2 separate regions of the Homo sapiens genome follow, and region 1 is linked to region 2. Evidence: promoter capture Hi-C in human tissues and cell types (Jung and others, 2019). All regions are on one chromosome and are shown on one strand. The core of a region is centred on a gene start or on the middle of the fragment in contact, and the rest is flanking DNA. Distances in the headings are between cores, read along the strand shown.

Region 1 (3,104 bases), core at 150-2,649, 37 kb before region 2:
ACATTCTGATGACATAAGCAATTATCACAGGGTCCAGAGAGGGTGGCAGATTGGGGCTGGGCTACGTGTCTGGCACAGTATTCCATCATGAACAGTTACTCATGCTTCTTAGCCTTTTCAAACCTTCAGAAGACAGCTAGCTGACAACTGTCATAGCCTTTTTCTTATTTTTCTTCTCCAGTGGAATAAAAAATATTTTCAATAGCATTAATGTTTTAAAAACTTCTAACAAAATAAAAAACATAATTAAAAGTGGCTACAAACTTGCCTGTTATTATGAGACCCCTAACTCTTACTCCTTAGTGGAAAATTCTGTATTGGACAGGGAAGAAAAATACAATGCAACATAGCTGTAGGATCAGACAGGTTAGGTCCAAGACACTTATTATAAGCCTCATTTACATGCTCGTGCATGTACTCCAAATATTTCTTCTAAATAGCTTGGAAAGAAACTAACATTCAGTCTCCCAACTCCCAGACTGACAACATTCTCTCCATTATATGCTAGTATGCTATGTCCGAGAAATTGAACACAACTAAAAAGACAGACTTAAAATATATAGACTCTAAGAAAACACTAAATAATCTAATTCTGGATTGGTTTATAGATTTGTTTAAAGATTTAGGAGGAAAAGAATATAAGCCCTGGAATATTTAAAGCAACAGTTTTTATTCACTGTGCCATAACATGAACTCATACTACTTCAAAATAGCATTGTTCCTGTTATGAATTTTCCTGTTTTATGATTCATTCATCTGATATTGCCATCCTATTGCAGTGATCACATCACTACTCACTTGGGGTCCTATGACAGGAGAGGTAAAAAAGGAAAGCTGTAGACATAGGTGACCTAAAAGATCATGCTGTCAGTATATGGTTAAAAACTATACTGCTTTTGCTTTGTCTTGAAACAACCTTCTTGGTCAGAGATATGACCAGAGGCTGTGGCCTGCCACGCTAACCTTCAACATGGCAGACAATATTCTTTTGTGAGCTCTTGCACTGGCTATCAAAGGAGTCCTTTGTTTCTGCCCCTCATTTCCACCTCTGTCAGAGCCTTACCTGGGATAGTACGCTGTGTAATTCATGAAGAGCTGAGTGCCTGCTGGGTAGTACGCTGTGGAGGGCTGCAGTGCTCGTGGATTCAAAATCACAGAGGGCTGGTAAATGGCAGCTTCTGTAGGAATAACTGCAGCAGGAGCTGGAAATGTGTAGGAGGGAGGAGACAGGCCTAGATATGCAAAGAGAGATTCTTTGAGACATATTTGTAACAGCTGACATGCACGTGCTAGCACTAAAAACATAGTCACTGTTCCATCTACACATTTTAAAGAAAGAGACCACAGTTCTTTATCCTATCCCAAGCAATTTCCTTTTGATTATACAGTTAATGCATAGAAGTATCTGAATTCCACCCTGTCAACCTAAAAAACAGTTCTTTGCCTGAAATTCGGAAACACCAAAATCAAGTGGATTTTCATGTCTTCTCAACCATTTCACAATATGTAATTTTTTTCCCTCATGTTCCTGAGTGCCAGTTACTACAAACCAACTCTCAGAGGAAAGAAACAAGGAACTGATGTTTAAGTTTCATACTAGAGGCTACTAAATATTTTAAATTTTAAGTTATGCTTCTACTCCCTCTTGCTACCTACCCGTCAGTACAGCATCAAATGAGAAGTGTTATGATAAACCTCTCTTGGCCACTACCACATATTAGGTCAAAGCATAGACTGTGCCAGAAGGAACTGACCTAAAAGAAACAAGCAGATCAATTCTGCATTATTCTCACCTAAAGGCTAGCCACATGATGGGCTTTGAAGCTAATTTATATCTTCAGACCTTTAAAAAGAAAAAAATCCAACCTGGGAAATAGTCCCAAAGGAATTGATGCCTAAGTCTTCCTGGGAATCAACTAATAAAAAGCTGGCTCAGATTAAATTAAAAAATGGGCCCCAACTGCATTGTCTTCTGGTTATCAAACATCTTCTAGGTTTAGAAACAGAAGACCAGTGGCTGGTCACTAGCTTTCACTTGTGGAATGAACACAACTATCCGGGCCATTTATACCCAATAGAAGAGTTAAGTTGAGATGCTGAATGAATATGGGGTCCCTGACTTTAAGCTTCATACCTAGAACCACCACATTTTGCAATCAGCAGAGGCCCAAGAAATAACTTTTTCCCATAAAAATCTCCAAGCTGACTTCAAATTGTCTTTTGTTCTTATGAGTTTCTACATTTCCATGGAGATGAATAAGACAGCAAGCTAAATATGGGCGTATAGAAAAAAGACTAACATATTGATCTCATATTTAACTTGAGTGCCTCTTTCATACTCATCAAAAACTGTGCAAAAGACCAACAATACAAATTGAGGCACCTAAGTCTCACAGAAAGTTATACAGCCTGTGCTCATATTCTGATTTCTTGAATTTTTTTTTAGTAGAAACAGGGTTTCGCCATGTTGGTCAGGCTGGTCTCGAACTCCTGACTTCGGGTGATCTGCCCGCCTTGGCCTCCCAAAGTGCTGGGATTACAGGCGTAAGCCACCGCGCCCGGTTCATATTCTGATTTCAAAACTATCAAGCGGTTCATTACAGGACAGTGCCTCACACCAATAAGACAAACACACATGGCTGGGTGTGGTGGCTCACGCCTGTAATCTCAGCACTTTGGGAGGCCGAAGCGGGCAGATCACAAGGGCAGGAGATCCAGACCATCCTGGCCAACATGGTGAGACCCCATCTCTACTAAAATACAAAAAATTAGCTGGGCATGGTGGCACACTCCTGTAGTCCCAGCTACTCAGGAGGTTGAGGCAGGAGAATCACTTCAACCTGGGAGTCAGAGGTTGCAGCGAGCCAAGACTGAGCCACTGCATGCCAGCCTGGCAGAAAAGCAAGACTCCGTCTCAAAACAAAACAAAACAAAAAAAAACCACACATGCATAAACACACACACATAGTAGGTGTAAGTCTGTTCAGCTTCAAAACAAAGGTAGAAATTTTCGATAACCAAATAGATTGGGCTGCAATGTTTTGGGCATTCCTCAAACAAAAGGATAGCTTTTTTTTTTTTTTTTGAGACTGAGTCTCACTGTC
Region 2 (3,226 bases), core at 32-2,531:
TGGGCCCAAACCCCGCAGGGGAGCGGCGCGTCTGGGGTCTGGACCTGGAGATGGGGGCGCTAGGATTCAAACTCCGCACGTCAATCAATTGGCAAAATGGAGCTGACTCTCCGGCTCCAGTAACTACTCAGGAAGCAACTCGAAAACTAGTGAATGTCGGTCCCAAACCCTGGGGGCTGGGAGATGAAGAGAAGCAGCGACCCCCGCCCAAACGGTGCGCCCCGGCCCTCAGGCTGGGCTCCCACCCACGCGGCCGGGCAGGCGTCTCGCCACCCTGCTCCGGGAACACGCGTGGGCCGCCCTGAGAGGGCGTAGGGTGCGGTGGGGTTGGGCCCAGGCTGGGGTGGGTGGCGTGACCCGGGGTTGTCACCTGTCGGAGGGCTTGGTCCAGCTGCGACGCCGAGGACAGGCTTTCGACGTCTATTTTAGTTTCTTCTTTGCAGTCCTCCGTCAGTTCCAACTGATCCGGTCTAACTAGCACTTCGTGCAACTGTCCCACCTCCGAAGGTAGAGAAGCACGGGTCAGTTTCCCCCAATTTCGGAGCCTCTTTCTGCACCCTCCTCCCTCGCTCCCCTGCTGGGGCGGCCCGCGCCTCTCTTGGGGTCCGGACGCAGAATCAAAGCTCTCGACTCGCCATCGGTTCCGGTGCGTTCCTGCCCCCCGCCCCACCCCCCACCCGATAGGTCGGAAAAGCCCTGGAAGTGGACCCCGGGGCCTCCGAGACCCCACCTCGTCTCGGCGGAGCGTCCCCCGACGGGCAAAGAACCCGGCTCGGTAGCGCCGGCCTCTCCACCTGAGCTAAGTTGCGGAGGACTGAAATGGCTCCAAGGCAGTTGGCCAATAAGTTTGGTTTTACTCTAGCTTCCCTAGGCCTCGGGTCCAGACTCACAAGTGGGCAAACAAGAGCACTTATTTACTTACCTCCACCCCCCTCCCCGCCCAAACCTCTACCACAAACTTCTTGCCCCATTCCTTGCATTTAGACGAAAATGTGGAGAAATACCTTCTTGTTGGCCAGATCCACGACTTTCCAGAACAGCAGGATCAACTCCTTCTCATCCGAGCCTAGCTTGGCCCCGGTGGCCCCAGCAGTGATCCCAAAAAGCACCACCAAGTAATCCGGAGAGGCCGTCATGACGATAGGTGGGGAGGGGGAGAGGGGGGGTCGGGAGGCGGTAAGGTGGTGTGGAAGTGAGAACGAAAAAACCTGTGCTAAACCCTCTTCTAAGAGAAAAAGAAAGAGCGCCCACCCCCCTTCCTTGCTACTGCTAGTGCAAAAGGCGGTAACCAACCACCCAAGCCCACACCTGGTCGGTGCTCCACGCCCAGGGCAGGAAGGGGGGTGGGAAGGAGGGCGCAGGAGGCCTGCCCTTTTTGTATTCAGTTGCCCGGGCGTCTATGCAAAAAGCCTGGAGCAAGGCTGCCCCCCCCGGGAGGCACGCAATGGCTGAAAGCTTTTCTGTTTTGGGATGTGGCTTTACCTGCCCGCCCCTTCCCCCTCCCCCACGTGGTGCAGGTAAGAGACACCTGGCGGCGCCGGCCCATTGGCTCCTTCAAACCACGACGTGGCAGCGGTGGGGGAGGAGGCCGCTTCGGGAGGGGGAGGAAGGGGCGGGAGACAATGGCTGGATGAATGGAGAGGCGAGGGCAGGGGAGGAGGAGGGGGAGACGTGAGGGGCAGGGAAGAGGCGGTTGACACCCAGAGGGTAGACGAGGCCAGACGGGGAAAGGGCTCAGAGAGGTAAAGGGCTCGGAGTCGCTGGGGGGAGGGGTTCCCACTGGAGGTAACTGAGAGGTGCAGGGGGGCTCGGAGAATACCGGCTGCAGGGAACGAAGCCGAAGGTTCTGAACGGTCAAGCGAAAAGGCCAGGTGCAGGGAGGCGAAAGGAGGCCAGAGGTGAGGCCCGGGGCGCGGAGCTGCCCAGGGCGCGGCGCAGGCGGAGGACGAACTGCTGAGGGAGGGACCTGCCAACCGCAGCCAGGAGGTGGCGGGGGCAACTGCAGATCCCCGGAAAAGCAGCTCCTGAGCCAACACAACTTTCAGTGCAAACAGCAGGAGAAATCCTGCGAGCCCCCCCTTCTCCGGGCCGGAGCCCGGGTGCACGCTCGTCCCAAACCCGCCGCGCTGCCCACCTTCCGGAGAGGAACCCCGCGCGCGGCAGAGCCGGACGCCAGGGGCTGGACGCCCAACCACCTAGTCACTCCCCAGGACGCAGTTATCGCGCGCAAAGCAGCTGGGGGACCCCGCAAGGAAACTCAGGCACAATGGAGCCCGCTTCTTTTTCTGTCAACTCTGAATGCTATGTCTGGTTTGGTCCTGGCTGCTAGTTCGAAGCTGGAACATCCTCCAGAGCTGGGGCCCATTTCCTTTTATTTGCCTTGGGCCCCAAATGAAAAGCATCTATCCGCATGCCTAATAAAAATTTTCTTAAATCGGGCCACGCAGGCTTTTTCCCAGGTTCTGCGCCCTGACCCCATTCCCTCTGCTCATGCTTTTGGCATTGTATTGGAGTGTGTTGACTTGACCAAGCTCCCAAACAACCTCCCTGCTCCACCTCAGCTTGGTCTGCCCAGAGGCTCGTACCCCAACCATCACCCCCCAGCCACCAGATCGGTGGCAGTATGTTGTTGGGTCTTGTTGACATTTTAGAGAGAAAAGCGCCAGAGGTGAAGTTTTCTCGGGTTTTATATCTCAAAGCGATTTGTTCTTGGGAACAGAATTCTGTCTGAAGTATTAATAATTCGGCTCTAGGTGTCCAGCCCCGTTCATATTCATGATGTGAAACGGGCAACCATGCACCTATCCCTGCAGAACCCACTCCGGGTACAAATCCGGTAACCTTTCAAGACGCGTGTCAAGGGAAGCTGGAGACCTGGCTTTCCCAGTGGGGGTTCAGCTCCCGGGAGGGGGGAGAGGAGCCCGAGGCCCGCGCCGTCTCGTTTCCTGGTAGGAGAAGGTGCAGGCGGAGGCGGGGCCTCCCGTGATACAGGTGGCAGCTCTCGTCCCCTGAGAGCGGGCGAAGGCCAGGGTCCCACACTCGCAGCGCTGCGACGGCGCTCGGGACCTCCCTCGTCCACTGCTTGAGTTCCAGAGGTGGGTGCTTCCCTGTCCTGAACTTCAGAGTGCGGAGTCATAAATGGGTTCCGGCTGGCTTACTGCAGTAGCCTCGCTCCTCCCCAGCCCCGGTAACTCCGAGCTACCCGTCCAGGCCCTCGGGCGTCGCG

What was found. Contacts are between HindIII fragments. The study calls those that stand out against the background at their distance.
Region 1: a contact is called between a fragment that was not itself captured here and the fragment with the promoter of ESRP1 in region 2, in 3 of the 25 tissues and cell types used here (H1 embryonic stem cells, mesendoderm cells and thymus).

The regions. Positions count from the first base shown.
Region 1 is chr8:94,676,331-94,679,434 of GRCh38, reverse strand. ESRP1 (epithelial splicing regulatory protein 1) reads right to left here. Exons shown (of 16, transcript NM_017697.4): 13 at 1,064-1,232. Among named protein-coding and RNA genes, the nearest start is that of ESRP1, 37 kb to the right of the region's middle. The HindIII fragment of the contact is 4,001 bases long and covers 1-3,104 here.
Region 2 is chr8:94,639,229-94,642,454 of GRCh38, reverse strand. It overlaps ESRP1 (epithelial splicing regulatory protein 1), which reads right to left and starts at 1,281. Exons shown (of 16, transcript NM_017697.4): 1 at 1,005-1,281; 2 at 371-499. The coding sequence starts at 1,136. It overlaps LINC02894 (long intergenic non-protein coding RNA 2894), which reads left to right and starts at 2,988. Exons shown (of 1, transcript NR_034034.1): 1 at 2,988-3,226. The HindIII fragment of the contact is 5,400 bases long and covers 1-2,599 here.